7 separate regions of the Homo sapiens genome follow, and regions 2, 3, 4, 5, 6 and 7 are each linked to region 1. Evidence: promoter capture Hi-C in 16 types of primary human blood cells and fetal thymus (Javierre and others, 2016). All regions are on one chromosome and are shown on one strand. Each heading gives the region's core, a stretch centred on a gene start or on the middle of the fragment in contact. The rest is flanking DNA. Distances are from core to core; before and after follow the strand shown. Region 1 holds the start of THAP9 (THAP domain containing 9). Region 2 has its middle 18 kb from the start of HPSE. Region 3 holds the start of LOC105377310 (a long non-coding RNA gene). Region 4 overlaps HPSE (heparanase). Region 5 overlaps HPSE (heparanase). Region 6 overlaps COQ2 (coenzyme Q2, polyprenyltransferase). Region 7 overlaps COQ2 (coenzyme Q2, polyprenyltransferase).

Region 1 (3,124 bases), core at 1-2,500:
AAAGTCTTACGTTTTAGTTTTACAAAATTCTACAAGGCAGGTTTTTATTCCTCTTACAGAAGAAGAAACCAAGACCCAGAGCCAAGTACAGACATCAGTAAATACTCAATTAAAATTGGAATTCATGTCTCCCTAGTTTAAAACTACCTCTATCACAAGAAAAATCCCAAATCAATTATGGTCTCACATACACAATGAGTTGGTTCACACTGCTAACAATTTAGGTGGAGGAATCAGCCCTATTTAAAAAATAGAAAACAAAAAAAAAAAAAAATCAATGAATTTTATACATAGCCTACCATACATACTCTAAACTCCTTAACCTGGCATTTACATTTTTAAAATGGTTTCTCAGGTACTTTTCCACTCCTCTATATTTGCACTTTCTATCCTTTACATTTTCCCATGCCATTCCTAACTACCCTCTTCCTACCCCCCCTTTCCAACCATAAAGTTCTTTTTGATCTTTCCATAAATCTGCTCCTTTTGTCTGTGAGGATCTATTTTACCCACTTTTCTACTTGCTAGTGTACCCTGAATACTGAATGACCTATACCAGTCTGAACCATGGATATGAGTTCAGATAAGACTGATCTGAAATTCTTCCCCACTGTCGAGCCAAATGAAACTTCCCTGCCATGATCAAATCCAGCCAGAATCGGACCGGCCTTGCACAGCTCGGCTAACAGCACTTAAGAACTTGCAATGTCAGGCAGTACAGGAGAAAACTGATCTGTACTCGTGCTCAGGAAGACGCCACACACACACTTCAACCGTTGTCCTAAACTGCCTTCCCTTTCGGCCTCCTCACTTCAAATAATAAGACCATCCAATTAATGGAGGACTCCTTTCGCGTAACTCTCCTTAAAGCGGTAGGCGGTGCGAGAACCGGCTATTCAGAGGTAAACACTGGGCGGGAAGAGAGAGAATCTCAATTCTCACAGTGCCCCAATTCCGCTCCCACGCCCCGACGCTGCGCACGTCACGTCGCGTCACACACGCGGCGCGACCCACAGTGCGGCCCGGCCCCGCCCCACGCCACGCCACGGCCCGCCGGGCCCCGCAGGGAGTTCGAAGGCTTCGAGGCTGCTCCCATACGCACTGGTGGAAGGAGAGGCCGCGCTCCCGGCTGAGCACGGTGTCACGGGTGCTGCAGCCCACTGCGGAGCAACTTCGGGTCATCTTCTTGTTACGTGGGGCCCCACCTTCGGGGTTCCCGCGACAGCATGAATCACGACCACTTTAGCTCCGCCCGTTGACTCTGCGGCTACGACCTTTATTTGTCACGAAAGGCGGGCTTTAGAGGCGCGGGACTTCCACACTTCCTCTCCGAAGGCCCTGCGCCGGTGCCGTAGCCAATGACAGGCCACGTTGTGTCCCAGCAGCCAATCGGAAGGGCCTGAGCCTGAAGACGTGCATTTGACCGCTCCTCCCTCCGCGTTGGAGGCGGAATAGTGGGTTTTGCTGCAACCGGTTTATTTTCCTTCTGTTTTCACCCATTCTGGCACAATCTGGCGCCATCGTCCTTCTTGTGAGGCCAAGCCTGAAAATGCGAAGCAGAGAGGCAGGACCAAAATTGAGGCGAATCCAGGAACCTGCCAATGGGTCTCCGGGTGCGGTCTCTGAAACTGGAGGATATCGGGAGGAAAGGGTATGGAAGAGGGATAAAACACGGTGCCTTAGGTGTGTTGAAGACAGAGTCGGGCCAAAAATATATGATTTACTGAGATGCGTGTCGTGTTCTTGCGCTTTATCTTGTAGCTCTCCGATGCGGAGATAATGGGGAAGCTCTTGGCATGGTTGGCTGTAGGTATGTGATACCGGAGGAGCAGGAGTCAAATAGGATACGCCGACTTTTAATTCAAGGAACCCTTTTCTGAAACACTTTGCCACAATGAAGGAAATAAGGTAAGGTTCTTGGGGCTCCTCAGTAGTAATAGGGGCAGGGGACAAGGGGCAATTAAGTGGTTTTGGTTGGGAATGAGGCATTATGAATAGCTTTCAGGAGATAGAGCTTAGAACAATGTCTTAGTTATAAGCTCTTATGTTTGAGGAAGAGATTTCAATTTGCTTAGAGAAGGAAACGGGCCAGTGGGTTTTTGTCTCTGAGAAGGAGATCCTTAGCATACAGAAAACAGAGAAGGGTTTGCAACTTTTCCGTTTCTTTGTATAGCACACAAAAATAATTCCAAATATCCAGGCCTAACAAGATTGCTTCTTTTTCCCCTTTGTGTTTACTTTGTCCAGATTACAGCCGAAGATACATATTAAGGTATTACTTATTCACACCAGTTTTCCATTATAATATGCTTGTATCTTCTCTGAATGGAATTAATAGCTTTTGGTTATGGTTCCTTAAAAGTCACATGGCCTAAGGATAGATGGTCAAGGAACTTTGGAAAAATTGGTCCCTGGGGGATGTGCAGGGCAAATACTTTTTGGCTGTAAGGTGTGTGCAGAGAGTAAGAACTGGATTTAAATACTGTAAGTTGGTTGGGCTGTTAGAGCCTTTTCCTGCTCAACCAATTAAGACCCGAGTGAGGCTGAATAAAAATAACATTGTTTTTAGCTATCTTTAAGGAAAAAATTAGTTGCCTTATATTTTTGTAACAGTTTTACTCAGATATAATTCTCATACCACACAACTAATTGGTTTAAAGTGTACAATTCAGTGGGTTTTAGTATATGCACAGAATTGTGGAACAGTCACAATCAATATTAGAACATTTTCATCACTCCAGAAAGAAACCTCATTCTTACTAGCAGCACCTCCAAATATTCCCCCACCCCGCTCAGCAAACACTAATTTAGTTTCCGTGTGCCTCTGCCTGCTCTGTACACTTCATGTAAGTGGAATTATGAACTAATATATGGTCTTTGTGACTGGCTTCTTTCACTTGGAATGTTTTCAGAGTTCATCCATCTTATAGCACGTATCAGTACTTTATTTTTTATTGCTGAATCGTACTCCATTTTATGGATGTAGCAGATTTTGTTTATCCGTTCAACAGTTGGTGGACATTTGGGTTTTCCAATTTTTTTTTTTACTATTATGAACATTTGTGTACAAGTTTTTGTGTGGACAAATGTTTTCATTTTCCTGATTACACACCTAAGAGTGGAA
Region 2 (3,124 bases), core at 410-2,909, 450 kb before region 1:
TATTTCTTCAAAATGTTAAACGTAGAGTTATATGACTTGGCAATTCCACTCCTAGGTATATATCCAAAAGAATTGAAAATCTTGTACATGAATGTTCATAGGAGTATTACACATAATAGCCAAAGAGCAGAAGCAGCACAAATGTCCATCAACTGATAAATTGACAAATACAAGTGGTATATCCATATAAATGGAATATTATTCAGCCACAAAAAGGAATAAAGTACTGGTTTATGCTATAACATAGCATAACCTTGAAAACATTGTGCAAAGTGAAAGAAGCCAGACACAAAATGATACATATTGTATGAAATGTCCAGAATAGGCAAATCCATAAAGACAGAAGGTAGATAGCAAGTAAGAATTACTGCTAATGGATATGGAGTTTCTCTTTGGAGTGATGAGAATGTTACGGAATTAGATAGTATTGATGGTTGCACAACCTTGTGAATATACTAAAACCCCTGAATTGTACACTTTAAAATGGTGAATTTATGCTATGAGAATTGTATCTCAATTTAAAAAAATAAGATAGATTGATGAATAGAGAGAGGGATGATTGAATGGATAGACACATAGTTAATTGTAGAATCTAGGTGGTGGTTACAAACTTTTATGTATGTTTACAATTTTTATTATAATAAGAGGATAGAAATGATAGAAAACTTAAAATGTTTCCCTGTTCTGCAGGGTTGTGTCTGAGTTCTGGGGCACTTGCACAGTGCTGAGGAGTGATGCATGTCAGGAGTGAGGCCAGGAGCAGGCAGATGACAGGAGGAAGTGATCTTCCACTCATCTGTCCACCCAGGTATCACCTGGAACATCTATTGGTCCACCTGCCCCTCGGCCATCGGCAAGCCCTTTCTGTCAATTGCAGCTTCATCACTATTTTACAATATGTAATGTGAAAATGTTCAATTGTATCTAAAATTCATTTACTTTATCACAAAAAATTTCAACATTGTCTTTTTTAAGATTTGACTCTGGGTCAACATTATCTTTCTCATGAAAGAAAGGAATTGCTGTGAGATTCTTTTAATAAATACAACTGTTAAAATTTTTTAAATTGTTTATTACCTACTTGCATGAGCAAAGTTTTTATTAGGAATTTGAAGAGATTATTGAAAATCATTAATTAAGATGGTGGACAGACATTTCAAATACACTGAATATTAAATAGTTATGTTCTAGCCAGACATGGTGGCTCACACTTGTAATCCCAATACTTTGAGAGGCCGAGACAGGAGGATTGCTTCAGCCCAGGAGTTGGAGACCAGCTTGGGCAACATAACAAGACCCTGTCTCTACAAAAAAATTTTAAACTTAGCAGGGCATGATGATGTGCACCTGTAGTCCCAGTTACTTGGGAGGCTGAGGCAGAAGGATTGATTGAGCCTGGGAGATTGAGGCTGCAGTGAGCCATGATTGCACCACTGCACTCCAGCTTGGGTGACACTGTGAGACCTTGTCTCAAAAAAAAAAATGTTATCTTCATGAATTCAAGCTTTGATTAAGAAAATGTAAGAAACAGCATTTGGAGGTTGTTTACAAATAAAATATTTAGCAAACGTGTGGCCTGTATTTTATGCTTCTTATCATAATTATATAACATACAAAATGTATTTTACACCAAGGGTGTGCGGATTCCCTCGAAAGCATCAGCTTTCCCAGAGTGCTCTACAAATGCTGTCATTTTCTATGTGTGTCAAGGTGTGCAGTAGGTTAGGAAACTGCACCGTGGTGAGGTGTTAACTCTGAGGCACCTCACAGAATCTTAATGGATTTAGGTTTAGGCTTTTGAAAATAAAAGCTTGTTCTCTGCTTTTTTTTTGCCCCGCTGTGTCACATCCTACATTTGAAACAATGAGCCAAGCTTGCTACTTGTTCAAAAAAGAAGACTAGAAAGAAAAAAGGGACATAGAGTAACATCTCTAAAACAATTCCTAAGATGTGGTCCACAGACCTCCTAAGAGTCTGGAGACCCCTGCAAGGGGTCTGTGAAGTCAAAACTCTTTTCATAATAATATTAAAATGTCATTTGTTCCTTTCACCCTCATTCTCTCCTGAGAGGACAGTGCGATTTTCCAGACACTACATGATGTATTATGATGTAACAAATTTAATGTTGATATTCATGTAAGAATCCAGCCACCTTTTGTTAAGTGAGAATCCAGCCGCCTTTTGTTAAGTGAGACACTAAAGTGATTTGCAGATAAAACAATGCTACTTTTCTCGCTGATTTTCTTGTTTTAAACATAGTTTTTTTAATAAAAATATGCTATTTATATTAATATGAAATGTGTTTATGGCCAGGTGCAGTGGCTCATGCTTGTAATCCCACCACTTTGGAAGGACAAAGCAGGAGAATCACTTGAGGCCAGGAGTTCGAGACCAGCCTTGGCAACATAGCAAGACCCCCATTTCTACAAAAGATGTTTTTTAAAAATTAGCCAGGAGGAACAGAAAACCAAACATGGCATGTTCTCACTCATAAGTGGGAGCTGAACAATGAGGATACATGGACACAGGGAGATATCACACTCCGGTACCTGTCGGGGGGTGTGGGAGCTAGGGGAGGGAGAGCATTAGGACAAATACCTAATGCATGCGGAGCTTAAAACCTAGATGACAGGTTGATAGATGCAGCAAACCACCATGGCACATGTATATCTATGCAACAAACCTGCATGTTCTACACATGTGTCCCAGAACTTTAAAGTAAAATAATAAATACATAAATAAGCCAGGTGTGATGGTACTTGACAGCAGTCCTAGCTACTTGGAAGGCTGAGGTGAGAGGATTGCTTGAGCCCAAGAGTTTGAGGTTACAGTGAGTTATGATCATGCCACTGACCTTCAGCCTGGGTAACAGAACAAGATCCTGTCTCTAAAAGAAAAAAAGTATTTGTTATAGTTACTCTTAATTATTTAACAAATATTTTTTAAATGTCTCAGTTTTAATTTTTAGTGCATCAAATATTGCAGATGTAACCCATGTGAAAAAAACTCTTTGGAATCCCCAGTAATTTGTAATAGTGTAAATGGTTCCTGGGATCAGAAATTTTGAGAACTGCTGCCAAAGTTTTACGCTGCCACACATCTAATATGTAAAAAACTCTGCAGC
Region 3 (3,124 bases), core at 362-2,861, 430 kb after region 1:
AGATTTATTTACCAGTCAATATTAGAATAACATCTAAGATGACCAGATTTTTGTAAACTATATTTAGATTTGTAGCCAGAGATAATTAAGAGCACTGGGGGGAAAGGGCTTAGACTAAACACAGCAACAAGTGGATTCAGTGACTAGAAGTACTCCAGATAGAGACCAGCTGGTGATTTGCTTTTTGCATTGTCCTAGGAGAGAGCTTTCTCAAAATACATTTGACTTCCTTATCGTATCCATAAGCATTATCATTACTTGCCCTTGGAAGGCTTTAAGCAGTACCCTTTTCTAGTATAAAGCCTGAAAGCACTATGCTTATTATCAGCAGTCTTTTTCTATTGTGGCATTTTATTTTGTAGGAATAACTACTGGAGCTTCAAGCACAGGCTGCTAGGAATGGGAAGAAAACGAATTTGAGAGGCACTGTGCAAAAGACAACAGGTGTGACTTGCTGCCTGTGGAGGAGGGTGAAGGGGAAGAAAGCGTCAAAGACATTCTGAAGGTTCAAGCCTGTATGACTGGGAAGATGGGGACACTTGCAAAATGTAGGAAGATAAGAGATGCCACCACTTGGAAGGAGACGGGGGAATGATGAGACAATCTCGATGTTCCTAACTGCATACCCCAGCAGAGGCCTTTTAAAAGCCTCGCTGTGCTGAAACGGATGAAAAATCCTGTCCACTGCTTAGTACTATTTGATTCACGTTGGCTGCCAAACAGATTATCACAAAATGTAGTGGCATAAAGCCACCATTTATTATACTCACAGATTCTGTGGGTCAGGAATTCAGACAGGGCACAGCAGGGACAGCTTTTCTCTGAAGTCTGGGGTCTCTACTAGAGAGCTTGAAGGCTGGACGCTGGAAGCATCTGAAGACCAGCCTATTCTTGTGTCTGGAGGTCAAGGCTGGCTGTCAGCTTGAGGCCTTAGTTTTTCTCCATATGGGTGAATCTGGGCTTCTCACAGTGTGGTAGCTGACTTCCCCAGAGCAATTGTCTAACCCCAGCTCTTGAAAAAAGTGAGTCAGCTAGAAGCTGTATCATAACCTAGCTTAGAAAGTTACAAACCATGGCCTCTGTTGTCCTTGTTTGGTTGGAGCAGTCGTAAGTCCCACCCAGTCTCATAGAATGGAACATAGGCCCCACCTCTTGGTGAGAGGACTGCAAAAGTCACATTGTAAGAAAAGCATGTAGGGGTGACATCCATGAACAGGGAAGAATAAGGAACATCAAAAGTCCCTCCAAAAAAGCAATAAATAAACTGGCAAAAACTGCCAGAATCAACTTTTTTAGAATTCTAGAACCTAAGCAAAAGCTTACAGCAACCAGGAGGACTTAATCAAGAAAGACTAACTACTTTTGCAAAAATTATGAGTGAGGGAAATCTAACATAACTGACTCCATCTTCCTTCTAACCTCACAAGCTGTCTTTGCTCATTCCAGGCTAACTATAGGAGGAATTTTGTATTTACTTTTATTTTTATTTTTTGAGACAGGGTTTCACTCTGTCACCCAGGCTGGAGTGCAGTGACACACTCATGGCTCACTGCAGCTTCGACCTCCCAACCTCAAGCAATCCTACTGTCTCAGCCTCCTGAGTAGCTGGGACTACAGGCACATAACCACCATGCCCAGCTAATTTTTGTTTTGTTTTCTTTTGTTTTGATAGATGGGGTTTCATCATATTACCCAGGCTGGTCTTGAACTCCTGGTCTTGAGTGATCCTCCCACCTTGGCCTCCCAAAGTGCTGGGATTACAGGTGTGAGCCACCGTGCCTGGCCTACGAATTTATAGTTTAATGTTAAAACAAAAATGAAAATAGTTCCTTCTCATAACTAACCCCCTCCTTGCTCAGGACCAAAACTGCTTTTGTAAAACTAACCAAAGGCCTCAAGCTTAGAAATGTGATAGGGCCCTGAATTCTGCTAAGATGTAGGCACAAACTCTAATCAGCCATTGTTTCTTCTGCTAAGATGTAGGCAGAGTTAAACTCTAACCAGTCATTGTTTTATAACTTGACTGTTTAAAACTACTTGGCCCGGCACGGTGGCTCATGCCTATAATCCCAGCACTTTGGGAAGCTGAGGTGGGTGGATCACGAGGTCAGGAGTTCAAAACCAGCCTGGCCAAGATGGTGAAACCCCATCTCTACTAAAAATACAAAAAAATTAGCCGGGTGTGGTTGTGGGTGCCTGTAATCCCAGCTACTCGGGAGGCTGAGGCAGAGAATTGCTTGAACCTGGGAGGTGAAGGTTGCAGTGAGCCGAGATGGCACCACAGCACTCCAGCCTGGGCTATAGAGTGAGACTCCATCTAAAAAAAAAAAAAAAACTCTTTACTACTCAGAAGTCACATAGCCACTGGTCACAAGATTTGTAACTTCCCCCAAATGCCCCTGTGGATAACATCACTGTTATAAAACCTAAGACTGATGTTTGAGATATTTTTCAGATTTGAATTTCGTATGGACCAACTGGCACCACCCATTAAAAAAAGTTGCACCCAGATATCAACTCAGCAAAAGAATAGCAACCCCCTATGATTTCATCCTTGACCCAACCCATCAGCATTACTCATTCCCTAGCCTCCTGCCCACCAAACTATCCTTGAAAAACCCTAGTCCCCGAATTCTCAGGGAGGTGGATTTGAGAATTATTTCCCGTCCATCTGCTTGGTGGGCCCTGTGATAATGAAATTATTTGCTGCAACACTCTTGCTGCTCTTAGTGCATTAGCTTTTCTGGGCAGTGGGCAAGAAGAACCCAGCTGGGCAATTACAAAACTACCTGAATCTCAGCAAAAGCTCAGGAAGCTCTGTGGTGATTTAAGTTACCCTCCTTCTAACTCCCACTCCTGTGCTCAGTGATGATGGCCTTGAAGGTAAGAGCCCAGGTTTCTAGCACAGGTAAGAATGCCAGAGGGAGCAGAATAATGGATCTCATTCACAAAGAATTGTGGTCATTCGTTTTGAGCTGTGCGTTTGTCTGCTTGGGCTGCTGTAACAAAATGCTACAGACTGGGTGGCTTAAACGACAGAAATGTATTCTCTTACAGTTCTGGAAGCTCAAAGTCCAAGATCAAGGTTCTGGCAGATTTGGCTTTTAGTGAAGGCTCCTCCTGG
Region 4 (3,124 bases), core at 284-2,783, 430 kb before region 1:
GGTGGCATCTGGGCTCTTAGTGTAACTGTCACCCGAATGTTGTACATTGTATCTAATAGGTAATTTCTCATCCCTCATCCCTCTCCCACCCTCCCACCTTTTGGAGTCTCCAGTGTCTACTATTCCACTAAGTCCATGTGTACACATTGTTTAGCGCCCACTCTAAATGAGCCTTTTTGTTTCATTCATTCTGTAAGTGTTGAATAGGCACCACCTAAGGTCAGGTATAAGTGGAAATTTGAAAAAGAAACTGCCCACTTGCCCCAGTACTTCCCTAGCCAAGAGGAGGGAAACCAGGCAGGTGCACCTGAAGGCCTGTGAGTGCTTGATTTGCTGTGCAGTGTAGGACAAGTAAGATTGTGCATAGCCTTCTGTATTTAAGACTGTGTTAGGAAGATTTCTCTTTCTTTTCTTTTCTTTTTCTTTTTTCTTTTCTTTTTTTTTTTTTAGGCAGATGAAAAGGGCGTCACAGAACAGGAATAAAAATCTAAATATTCAATAAATGAGACCTAGGAGACTACTGCAGTGACTTACAAAGTCCTAATAAAAAGATGTCTCTCCAAAATGGGGCTGCAAAATGTGGTGCTGCCTTATCAGCTCTAAGTTTTTTCCTTACCTGAGAAAGAAGGAACCTGATGCAGGTTCAGGGCTCCTGCCCCATGAATGCAGGCTGACTCCAAGATGGGGAGCTACAGGGACAATCCCAGGTCTTCTAGGCCTCTTATTTAGGCCCTGGGAGCCTCCAGAGATGGCCACATCTTGACCAGCCCAGATAGAGGGAAAGATCACCATTATCTCACCTCTGTGTCAAATACCTAGATGCTGTCCTCCCTGAGCCCACACTATAGTTGCCAGCGCTAATTTAATGGGTAGTGTACTGGTTAAGAGATGGACAGACCATCCTGGCTTGACTCTCAGCTCTGGCAAAGATGAGTGACTTGGTTTTTCCATATCTCTTGGCCACACCAACCTTGATTTCTTCAGCTGTAGAATGGAATTTCTCAAGCTTGCCTCAAGGATTATTGCCCGAGGATTTGATGATATGGTAAGAGCTTCTCAGTGTTTGACCCATAGTAAGTGTTTGACGTTTCAAACGAATTGTTTCTTTCTAGGACATGGTGAGCATTTGGTAGCCATTCACCGGTTTTCTGTTTCTTTGGATCATAGTTAACCTCTCCTTTTCCTTCTGGCACTACAATTTTCTGGTGGGGAAGAATCCTTACTTTCTGCCCTTCCCCTTAAGGATAGGAAGCTGATACTAGGCAGCAACTAGTTGGGGGATAGGAAGATTGTTCCAGAGAAATGCTGAACCATAGGGCTCCAGATCACAGGACCCCAGTCTTAGCTTGCTGGGGTGTGGGGTGGGGGGGGGCGGTTACTGAACATGGGTATGAAGTAGATGTCCATTTACTGAAATGTGAGGACCTGAGGCCTCTTCTATTGCTGTAGCCAGCATATTCCCCAACCTCTCCCCAAGAAAGGACAGATGGGGGTTCCCCCCTGGAGTAACAGGTCCAAAAGAAAAAACATACAGTGGGACTTCCAGGATCTGGGCCTGATCACCCAGCAGTCAAGCTCCCCGCAATTGACTAACACCCCCCTAACACGTAGAAATTCCAATCTGCAATTTAGTGAGGATGATACCTTTATTCTTCTTAAATACATCTCTTCATTTCCCAGAGCACCCTTTTTTCCCCTCCTCTGCACCTTTTTGTTAAAGACTGGAGTATAATGAAATACCAAGAGAGCATAACATGTGATACATAAAACTTTTTTTCTGGTTTACAAAACAGTTCATTCTTGTCCATACGTGCTTCTCTCCAAGGCTGGCTGCTGTCTGTTCCAGCCCGCTTCGCTTGGAGAGGCCATCTGCCATACCTGCTCCCCAGACGCATCGACAAGCACACCCAGAGTGTTATCTGCTAAGACCTAAAAGAGGGAGGAACCCCCTCTCCTCATCTAAGACCTAGCTTCTAAATTAGAGTGTGAGGGTCCATCTCCCCAGGAGGGGCACAGGGCCCAAACAGCCCAGCCATCTCAGAAGACAACACTAAGCTTTGTAGGGGTCCACAGTAGAGGAGAGTAAGACGCCTGTTGTTTAATTTATTACAGTTCCTCAAAAGTGAAGATGTGTGGGCGGGATGGCAAGAGCTGAGCAGACGAAAGCTGAAGGAATAAGGAAAGAGAGGAGGACACAAACAGCTGACACTTCCTCAGTTCTTGTCATTTGCCTGGCCCTGTTCTAAGCACCTTCTAGGTATTAATCCATTTAGTCTTGGCTACAACACTGTGAGTGACTAGTTTTGTCACCCCCATTTTAAAAATGAAGAAAGTGAGGCTCAGGGAGGTTAAGTAACTTGGCCACAGTTTGAAACTAGACTCTGATCACATGAGATAATAGTGCCCATAAAAAGGGAAAGCAGATTATATTTTTTAAAGGAAAGAGAGTAGGATATGGTAGAAAAAGATTGTTTGGAAAGGAATTGAGAGATTGATATAATGAAAAGAAGCATTCACATGAGAGTAACAGTATCAGGGCCCAAACCTTCATCTAAGGTACTTCAAAGAGGCCTAAGCAAACTTAGTCACTGGCGTGGTTCTAGTCTCCATGATGGCAAATACATTGTGTACAGCCCAACTCCACACAAAACTTAAATACCAATGATAGAGCAATCTAAAATTTGAAAGAAAAAATCTTTCAATTTGTCGTCTTCCCAGAGGGACTTAATCAAGAAACCAATCAAAATACTTCCTAAGCCTAACTGTGTGCAGAACTCCAAAGAGAGCCCAGCCCTAAATCAACACTGTCCAATGGAAATATAATATAATGTGGGCCTCATATGCAAGGTCATATGTAATTTTAAATTTTCTAGTAGCCATATTAAAAAGGTAAAAAGAAACAAGTGAAATTAATTTTAATAATTTTATTTAGTTCAATAGATCCAAAATGTTTTCTCAGCATGTAATCAATATAAAAATATTAATGAGGTATTTATTATTCCTTTTCTCAAACCAAGTCTATTCTATAATCTGGCGTGTATTATTTACAGCACTTCTCAGACTATATTTCTTTCTTTCTTTTTTTTTTCCGAGACAATTTTGCTCTTGTCACCCAAGCTAGAGT
Region 5 (3,124 bases), core at 208-2,707, 400 kb before region 1:
AAATTTGCTCTATAAGCTGGAGTTCTAAGCCACCTCTTTGAGAATTACTTGTTCCCTGGTATTTTCTGTTAACATACATGTATTAATATACATGTTAACAAGCTTCTGTTTGTTTTCTCCTGTTTTCTGTCTTGTTACAGAGGTCCATCCCAACTAAGAACTAAAGAGTAGGAGGAAAATATAATTTCCTCCTGCATACTTTGATCTTGTTTAATCCGTAATCCTTCCCACTTTTCACCTCCTACCTATTAGATTACTTTGAAGCAAATTTCAGATATATTACTTTATCTATAAATATTTCAGTATGTGCTAGGTGTGGTGGCTCACACCTGTAATCCCAACACTTTGGGAAGCTGAGGCAGGAGGATCACTTGAGCCCAGGAGTTCAAGACCAGCTACGGCAACAAAAAATCAAAAACTTATCTGGGCATGGTGGCACATGCCTGTGGTCCCAGCTACATGAGAGGCTGAGGCAGGAGGATCGCTTTAGCCCAGGAGGTTGAGGCTGCAGTAAGCTGCATTCACACCACTGCACTCCAGCCTGGGTGACAGAGTAAGACCATGTCTCAAAAAAATACATATTTTAGTATGTATCCTTTTTGTAAAAACACAATACTTTTATCATACTTTAAATAATAACAATAATTCCTTAGTATCACCAAATATTTTGTCAGTGTCTCACATTTTCCTTGTCTAAAATATTGTTGATAGTTATTCAAATCAGAATCCAAACAAGGTCCATATATTACATTTGGTTGATAAGTCTCTTAAGTTTGTTCATCTTTAAGTTATTCCTCCCTCTCTTTCATCTCTTGTAATTTATTAATGTGAAAAAACAGGTAATTTGTTCTATAGTATTTCCTACATTATAGAGTTTGCTAAATTTATTCCCTATGATATCATTTAGCATGTTCCTCTGTCCCCTGTGTTTCCTGTAAACTGGTAGTTATACCTAGAAGCTTGAGTTTATTCAGGTTTTTAATTGTATTTTTTTGCAAGAATTCTTTATTATCTGCTTCTGGAAGCACAGAATGTCTGGTTGTGTCTGGTTTTGATCTTGACAGCTACTGATGACCATTGCCTAATCCATTACTTTATTGGGGTGGGGGGAATAAGGTTTTAAAATAAATTTTTTTTTAAGATTTTTTTAACTGTTATTTTGAGACAGTGTCTCATTTCGTTTCCCAGGCTGGAGTGCAGTGGCACAATCACGGCTCACTGCAGCCTTGACCTCCTGGGATCAGGTGATCTTCTCACCTCAGCCTCCTGGGTACCTGGAACTACAGGTGCACACCACCACACCTGGCTAATTTTTTGTATTTTGTGTACAGAAGGGGTTTCATCATGTTTCCCAGACTGGTCTTGAACTCCTGGGTTCAAGTGATCTACCCACTTCAGCTTCCCAAAATCCTGGGATTACACTTTGGCCACCGTGCCTGGCCTAAATGAAATTATTTGTCTCTAAACAGACAGAAGTTTTACTTTAAAAATTTGTCTTTGTGTGTACATGTGTTTGTGTATGTGTGTGTGTCTAAAAGTTTGGCTTTGAGCTTTGCTTTGAATTCTTGGATGAACGATAACCAAGAATACTTAAACTCTGATCATTCTTGACAGATATCCCCTACAGGCTATGGCCTTTTGAATTGTGTCCTCCAGTGATAAAAAGCAGCAAGCACGATACTGCTCTCAGATTCATGGTGGTCACATGTGAGGGGAAAAAAAAAAAAAAGATGAATCCTATTTAAATGCCCCCAGGATAACAGTGATACTCTTTGTAGGATAACTATTTGCTTGCCACTGGTTTCATTAAATAAGGACATAAGTAAACATCTATTTTTGTCTCTTTCTCCCCAACCACCACAACTAGGATTATTGGCTATCTCTTCTGTTCAAGAAATTGGTGGGCACCAAGGTGTTAATGGCAAGCGTGCAAGGTTCAAAGAGAAGGAAGCTTCGAGTATACCTTCATTGCACAAACACTGACAAGTAAGTATGAAACACACCCTTTACCAATCATCAAGTTTTAGTGGGTAAGCCTGTAACTTTACTCAAACACCCTGTTGCATGTGTCTATACATTGCATAAGTATAGGCAGTTGCAATTTAGTAAAGTTTTATACAACGATTTTATTTTATTTTATTTTTAGAAGAAAAATGCTACTTTTGTTGTTGTTGTTTTTTGAGACGGGGCCTCGCTCGTCACCCAGGCTGGAGTGCAGTGGTGCAATCTCAGCTCACTGCAACCTCCGCCTCCCGGGTTCAAGTGATTCTTGAAGAGGAGAACAATAATAACAACAATATTATTTTCAAAAGTTGTGACCGCAGTTTCTGGAGTTGAGAAGACATCGAGATTTTTGTAGCCTCATACTCTTGCTTTAGGTAGCAAAAAATGTTCCTAAATCTCAGGAATATTCTCTAGATAGGTTTCAATCTATCATTCCTGATAAGATGATGCTGAAATACTAATTCTAGCCAAAAAAGACCAGCTACCATTTCCGATTGTTGGTGACTGGGAACTCTGGATAGTGAGGACCCCAGTAGGAAGTAGCGAGGGGAATGGTTTGAATGGATAAATTCATAAAAAATGTCAGTAGATTTAATTTTCTTATACATTTCAGTCTTTTTATAAGGCTAGGAAAAGCCCCTGTTTTTATGGTTTATAATTTGAATTCACATGAACCCACAAAATTTGCCTTTTACCTTCCTATGTCTGAAAATGGATAGTCTGGCTGGCCTCTTAACAACCCAGCTGGCAGAGCTGTGAGGATCTCAGTGTGCTCTAGCCCAGACATTGGTAGCATGAACGGCAACATTTTTAATTGTGTTTTCAAAATAGGAGCACACTAGCGGTCTAAAACGATCATAAAAGAAGGATACTAAGAGGGCCCACTGTCATTATGGATCCTAATACTTAGGATGCATTATGGATTGTCATTATGGATACTAATACTTAGGATCACATTTGTAATTGAGTTTTTAATTGCTTAAATTAGATACATATTTCTATTAAGTTAACCTCTTTGCTTTTAGTCCAAGGTATAAAGAAGGAGATTTAACTCTGTATGCCATAAACCTCCATAATGTCACCAAGTACTTGCGGTTACCCTATCCTTTTTCTAACAAGC
Region 6 (3,124 bases), core at 242-2,741, 380 kb before region 1:
TTTTCCTGACCTTCCTATCTTAATTAACACCTACCAACCTCACTTTCTATCGCTTTATCCGCAATTTTTCTTAATAGCACTCACCACTAACTAACCTTATGCGCTTGTTGATTGATTGGCTTCTCCAGTAGTGTTAAGTGAATTAATAAGTTCCTACTACGTTGTCCGGCCATAGAGATAGAAAAAGCTATGGAAACCCTTTGCTTTCAAGGAACTCTGGTCTAGTTGAAAAAGACTATTTGGTGAGCTAGGAAAATATGGATCAAATATGAGTGATACAAAAGCAAGTGCTACAGGAAAAAGAGAAATTACTGTGGATCCCTTGCTGGAAAGTTTCGAGAAGAAATTATACTCCAAAGGACAAGTTGATTTTGCAGAGGAGGGAAGAGATCTTAGTGCGGGAAGTACTTTTGCAAAGACCCAAGGGTGGAGTGTTAGAACACTAAGAATACGAGCCTGACCTGGAACACCAAGTGGGTGTGGAAAATGGGAAACGAGACTAGACAAGAACATATCTGAAGAAGCTGGATAGCGTGGAGGAAGAAGTGAAGGATGAACTCCAGCCAATCTAGATGATGACATTTGCCATTGCAGTGTATGGAGATGTAGTCAAAGGCCTAGGTACATTTACTCCACTTTTGCCCGTACAAGACCCGAATTAGGCCTTGCTTTTGGTATTCTAGATTTATGCACGACCTATTTGGGATTAGAGCACTAAGTTATAACAATCAGCTATCAAAGCATAAAAGCCTACTGAATGATAGGTACAGCCCTGCCATCATTGGGAAGCTGTGTATGACCCCCATGAGTTTTGGGGCCACATTCACGTTGAGAGGCATGCATTTCCAAGCCCAGTTCCAATCTGAAGCCTGGCTGTAATTCTGTTCTTGGAGTCTGTGGCATGGAGTGGCAGTGTAGCCTTATAGATGAACATCTGCCATTATTCCCATTTCCCCAGTTAAACCTCTGGCTTCTATCTTAGTGGCTGGACCTTCCGCCATGTAACAGAAGGCAACAAAGGGGTTATGAGCAAAACTTTGGAGCCAAACCTCTTGGATGTGAACCTCCACCCTGCTCATCTGAGGGACCTTGGATAAATTACTTCACCTCTCTGGGCATCCGTTTTTCATCTGTAAAATGAAGATACTATTAATGATAATATGGACGTTATGAGGTCACGAAAATTCATTAATATATGTTAAGTGCTTAGAACAGTGCCTGTCATAATATGTGCTGAAGAAATAGCCATTATTATCTTAGAAGTGGGGAATGGAGAAAATTGTACTTACAGATTGTGTATGTTTGGAAGATACCAGCCTGCATGGTTTGGTTCTAAATAAGGTGATCATTACAGGATTTTTCAGAAAACTAAATAGTACTATGTTAGAATTCGCTCAACAAATGTATTTTGAACCCCTACCATATGCCAGAAACAATAATTGACAGGAGTAGAATTCCAGGTTTGATAATTCTTTATTTAAATTCTTATTTTGTGGGATAATTATGTGTTCGTTGTTTTACTTTGTTGAAGTTATATCTTGTTACCTTCATTGATCAATAGTAGGTTTTCGTTGTTTTTGAGAAGGCAATACAGCTTCTTTCAAATGGGCTAAACTACCTTATTCCAGAAAGTGTCAGCAGGTGGCACTCTTTCCACCAAATTGGAAGTGTAATTTTTTGTTTTACCACGTTTATGGGTGATTATGTTGTCTTGAAGATCATCTGTTTTTGATCTGTCCATCACCCCTCAGAACTTGCTCATTTTATTTCATCTCCCATAGAGTTTTTCCCTTTTCTACAAAAACATTTCTTTTTGCAATCTACTTGTCTCTTGTCTTTGCTACCTCTGCGTCTTTCTTCACAGAAAAGTATGGGGAATGAAAGTGTCATATGGAAGACAAAAAAAAAAAAACATTGCTAGGAATCAGTAGGGACAAAAGAACAGGTGAAACTGAAGTGTATGGAGAGATTTAGGGAGTACAGAGTGACAGCATTGGACTTAGGACACAGACTGCAGCCAGACTGTCTGGGTTGGAATACCACCTTAGCCTTTTTTTACCTGTGTGGTCTTGGGCACAATTACTCCCTCTCTGCGTCAGTTTCTGTATTTGTAAAATGGTTGTAATAAAAATAGTGCCTATCGAATAGGCTTGTTGTGAGAGTCAAAAGTGTTCTGTGAAACCACCTGGTACAGTAAGTGCCATGTATCTGTTATTACGGTTGTCATAACATCATTAATATTGTCATCTCTTAACGACTCTGTGAGGTAGCTGTTCTCTTCCCTCATTTACAGATGAAACAAAGACTTAAGCCTTAAGATACTTTACTGTCTAGTGTCACTCAACTTACAAGTGGCAGACATAGAACTGAGAAGTCTTCTTACTTTCCCCTTCACTGTAGGAACCCTTGTCATCTGTAGGGGAGCTCTACAGATTCCTATCAGTAAGTGAATACGGTACTTTTAATACAGATTTTTGGCCAAGGAAGTTTTGTTCCTGACAGAAAACACTATAAGTGGTTACACGTCTTTCTGTCTAGAATTTTTTTCTTTTTAGTGGAACCTTCTGTTCTAATTGTACCAGGAAATAATAGCTGTGAAGTGGTATTCTCTCTTCTCTAGCCTAGGAGGATAGGATCAGCTACTCCTCTGTCCCTTGTGAACTATACTCATAGCTCCAGGGTAAAGAAAGTAGTTAAACCTACTGTGTTTTACTTAAACCACTCTGTTTATCTGTTTCCTCATCTGTAAGATAGGGTTATTAACAGTACCTACTATGTAAAGATGTTACTTGGGAGGCTGAGGTGGAAGTATTGCTTGAGCCTGGAAGTCAGAAGCTGTAGTGAACTATGACCTTGTTACTGCACTCCAGCCTCGGCAAGAGAGCGAGACCCTGTCTCTAATGTAAATATATAAATAAATAAGTTTAATATAAAGATGTCATTGAAGATTAAATAAGTTTAGACATATAAAGCATTTAGAACACTGCCTGATGCTTTGTGAGCACTCCGTAAATATTAGCCATTGTTACTGTGGAGTGCACCAAGTATGAGTCTGTCCAGGACAACCTGAATTCAGGTCTGGACTGACCATTTCTCAAGGTTTTAGCTTGAGGCTTCTCCTTGA
Region 7 (3,124 bases), core at 446-2,945, 360 kb before region 1:
TCTCAAAAAAAAAACAAAAAAAAAAGAAGATATTCATGAAGCTGTATTTAGATGACTGATTTTATACAGATTATTGCCAATTACTATCAGTATAGGCAAGACTCACATAACATGGTATGAAGGAAATCAGAATCTGATGTCTGTAAAGTAAACCATATGCTGTGTCCCCTCCACTGTTTTCCTCACTGTGAAAACTAAAATGTGAATTGGTGACTTTCCAGGATGTCACCATTTTTCCCTTCAGAATTTCTCAGCATCCCTTTTTGGTCATAGCTCAGCTCCATGAGGGCTGACATTGTCATTTGATTGTCTGGTCTGGATAATGGGTATATGTTAATATTTAAACACCTGAATATTAAATAGTACAGGAAGGCAAAAATTATTAAGACAATCACAAATACTATAAGGAATATTCGGCCAGGCGCAGTGGCTCACGCCTGTAATCCCAACACTTTGGGAGGCCGAGGTGGGCAGATCACTTGAGGTCAGGAGTTCAAGATCAGCCTGGCCAACATGGATAAACCCTGTCTCTACTAATAATACAAAAATTAGCTGGGCATGGTGGTGTGCACCTGTAATTCCAGCCACTCGAGAGGCTGAGGCAGGAGAATCACTTGAAACCTGGGAGGCAGAGGTTACAGTGAGCCAAGATGGTGCCACTGCACTCCAGCCTGGGTGACAGAAGGAAACTGTGTCTCAAAAACAAAGGAAGAAAAAAGAAATACTTGGAGCCCACTTTATATTTTAAATCACATTTATGGTCCTCTGTCCAGTTTTGTTGTTGTTGTTGTTGTTGTTTGTTTTGAAACAGAGTCTTCCCTCTGTCACCCAGGCTGGAGTGAAGTGGCACGATCTTGGCTCAGTACAACCTCCACCACCTCCTGGTTTCAAGCGATTCTCGTGCCTCAGCCTCCGTAGTAGCTGGGATCACAGGCACACGCCATCATGCCCAGCTCATTTTTGTATTTTTTTAGTAGAGACGGGGCTTCGCCATGTTGGCCAGACTGATCGCAAACTCTTGGCCTTAAGTGATCCGCCCACCTCAGCCTCCCAAAGTGCTGGGATTACAGGCATGAGCCACCACGCCTGGCCTCTCTGTCCAGTTTTCGATACAGTGTTTAAAGATGGACGTAGCCTTTTAGTATTTAAAGAGAAAGGAAATCATGATAATTGTAAGTCTGCAGACCACATAATAAAGAATAGTCCCCCATGCCTAAGGAAGATAGGAACATACGTGAGACTTCCTTAGTGTATTTGCAGGGCTACCATGGGGAAAAAGGAGTACGCTTGTTCTAGATTACTAGCAACAGATTTAGGTCTCTAGCTCCCCTTCCCTAAATGTAGGTCCCTGAACAGGAGAGATTTAGAAATGTGGGAGGGCATTTTTGGTTATAATAAACTAGGAGGGGTGACTATATGGATGATGGCCAGATACAGTCAATATCTTGTGCTGCACCAGATTGCCCTGCATTAGAGTTGTCCTGCCCAAATGGGACTTGTTCTCCATTGAGAAACTTTGCTGCAGACGCTAAAACCAGAACTGGAGGGTAGGAGTTGCAGGGAGACAGACTTTAGATCAGTCAGTATAAGGAAGAACGTTCTAAATCGTTAGAACTAAAAACAGTATGGGTTGCCTCACAAGCATTCATGCAACCCTCAACCGAAAATTCTTAAGAAACAGCTTGGATGATTCCAAGTGAAAAATATGGTAAATTTTTCTTTTTCTTTTTCTTTTTTTTTGAGATAGAGTCTCACTCTCTCACCCAGGCTAGGAGGGTGCAGTAGGGTGATCATGGCTTATTGCAGCCTTGACCTCTTGGCCTCAAGCAATCCTCCCACCTCAGCCTCTTGAGTAGCTGGGACTACAGGCATGTGCCTTCGTGCCTAGCTAATTTTTCATTTTTTATATTTGTATTTTTTGTATTTGCTGTTTTCTCCTCCGTGTTAACATGTTTATTTGTTATGACCCAAAGTCCAGACTAGGTATTAATACAACTTTGTATTCCTCTCTTGCAGATTTACACTCTAGACATCCACAGACCTGAGGATTGTTGGAATAAATTTATCTCCAACCGAACACTGGGACTAATAGTTTTTTTAGGGATTGTCCTTGGGAATTTGTGGAAAGAAAAGAAGACAGACAAAACAAAGAAGGGTATAGAGAATAAAATAGAAAATTAATGAATGAAATTTATCTAGGAATTTTTAAAACATTTTTTACAAAATATAATTAGATTTGAATACAAAATCTGATACAATATGTTAAAGAATTAAGAACCTGAAGATGAAGATTTAGAGCATATTTACCTGGATTTTACTTATTTGCTAGCAAAATTCCCCCTTGTCACAGAAACCAGGGACTCTTCAGGATTTGAGATGGCCTTGAGTATTTTAGTTGATACATTCTTCTGCCCATTATAATTCTCACCTGAAGTTATGGGGATTGCACGGGTTTTGGCACTTTAGAAAAAGCCTGATGTGGGTCTTACATAAATGAATGTCTGTATAAGAAAATGGACTCTTTTTTTTAGGGAAAAATAAAAGCAACTATGGGAAGTTGGGCCTTACTGTTCTTTATTGTGACCTTTAGTCACTGCCAAAAACTGTAATTTAGGAAACCAATTCTGTTTTTTTATGTTTTAGGAGAATTTAAATAACCAAATAGAAGTATTTAGCTATTATAGCCACATGTACCACTGTTTACCAACCCTGACTTTTATTTGGGAGATTTGGTCTCTGTGTGCAGTCACAGTGACCAGAACAGACAAGTGGGCAGTCACCAGAGACTACCTTGATTTTCTGTCTATATCTTTTTTATCTTATCCCATTATAGTTTATAGGATAGTGATATTTAAATGTTTACTGTTTTTTCCTTTACCTGCCCTCACCTTCACAATGTTCTCAACACAGTAACCAGAGTAATTCTCTTAAAACCTGAGTAAGGTCATGTCATTCCTCTCCCCAGAACCCTCCAGGATCTCCCTAGGTCACTCAGTACAAAACGAAAGTCCTACCACCTGCCAGGCCCTCCATGACTTGGCTTCATGTCTGACTTCTCACACTCACACCTGTAGCCCCACTGGCCTCACTCTTCCTTAAACAGGCTGGGCAGACTCCTACCCCA

What was found. Contacts are between HindIII fragments. The CHiCAGO score rates a contact against its expected background, and 5 or more counts as called.
Region 2: a fragment that was not itself captured here is called in contact with the fragment with the promoter of THAP9 in region 1 in 1 of 17 cell types (naive CD4 T cells); the score reaches 5.3 in naive CD4 T cells.
Region 3: a fragment that was not itself captured here is called in contact with the fragment with the promoter of THAP9 in region 1 in 1 of 17 cell types (naive CD4 T cells); the score reaches 5.2 in naive CD4 T cells.
Region 4: a fragment that was not itself captured here is called in contact with the fragment with the promoter of THAP9 in region 1 in 5 of 17 cell types (naive CD8 T cells, monocytes, non-activated CD4 T cells and 2 more); the score reaches 7.8 in naive CD8 T cells.
Region 5: a contact is called between a fragment that was not itself captured here and the fragment with the promoter of THAP9 in region 1, in 1 of 17 cell types (total B cells). The highest score is 6.4, in total B cells.
Region 6: a fragment that was not itself captured here is called in contact with the fragment with the promoter of THAP9 in region 1 in 16 of 17 cell types (fetal thymus, naive CD8 T cells, total CD8 T cells and 13 more); the score reaches 21.6 in fetal thymus.
Region 7: a contact is called between a fragment that was not itself captured here and the fragment with the promoter of THAP9 in region 1, in 1 of 17 cell types (total CD8 T cells). The highest score is 7.0, in total CD8 T cells.

The regions. Positions count from the first base shown.
Region 1 is chr4:82,898,861-82,901,984 of GRCh38, reverse strand. It overlaps THAP9 (THAP domain containing 9), which reads right to left and starts at 1,250. Exons shown (of 5, transcript NM_024672.6): 1 at 1,103-1,250. The coding sequence starts at 1,182. THAP9-AS1 (THAP9 antisense RNA 1) reads left to right here and starts at 1,069. Exons shown (of 4, transcript NR_034077.1): 1 at 1,069-1,651; 2 at 1,762-1,908. It also overlaps a transcript of SEC31A not described here. RefSeq lists a silencer at 891-1,240 and enhancers at 766-1,285, 1,551-1,670, 1,286-1,805. The HindIII fragment of the contact is 4,998 bases long and covers 1-3,124 here.
Region 2 is chr4:83,350,790-83,353,913 of GRCh38, reverse strand. No RefSeq gene overlaps it. Among named protein-coding and RNA genes, the nearest start is that of HPSE, 18 kb to the right of the region's middle. The HindIII fragment of the contact is 306 bases long and covers 1,507-1,812 here.
Region 3 is chr4:82,467,964-82,471,087 of GRCh38, reverse strand. LOC105377310 (a long non-coding RNA gene) reads right to left here and starts at 2,083. Exons shown (of 3, transcript XR_007058164.1): 1 at 771-2,083. The HindIII fragment of the contact is 581 bases long and covers 1,321-1,901 here.
Region 4 is chr4:83,331,169-83,334,292 of GRCh38, reverse strand. The region is part of intron 1 of HPSE (heparanase); the gene reads left to right. Among named protein-coding and RNA genes, the nearest start is that of HPSE, 2.1 kb to the left of the region's middle. The HindIII fragment of the contact is 1,049 bases long and covers 1,009-2,057 here.
Region 5 is chr4:83,301,012-83,304,135 of GRCh38, reverse strand. HPSE (heparanase) reads left to right here. Exons shown (of 12, transcript NM_001098540.3): 10 at 1,868-1,986; 11 at 3,030-3,124. Among named protein-coding and RNA genes, the nearest start is that of COQ2, 18 kb to the right of the region's middle. The HindIII fragment of the contact is 992 bases long and covers 962-1,953 here.
Region 6 is chr4:83,280,750-83,283,873 of GRCh38, reverse strand. The region is part of intron 1 of COQ2 (coenzyme Q2, polyprenyltransferase); the gene reads left to right. Among named protein-coding and RNA genes, the nearest start is that of COQ2, 2.5 kb to the left of the region's middle. The HindIII fragment of the contact is 3,876 bases long and covers 1-3,124 here.
Region 7 is chr4:83,263,256-83,266,379 of GRCh38, reverse strand. It overlaps COQ2 (coenzyme Q2, polyprenyltransferase), which reads left to right. Exons shown (of 7, transcript NM_001358921.2): 7 at 2,017-2,556. The coding sequence ends at 2,181. Among named protein-coding and RNA genes, the nearest start is that of COQ2, 20 kb to the left of the region's middle. The HindIII fragment of the contact is 4,496 bases long and covers 1-3,124 here.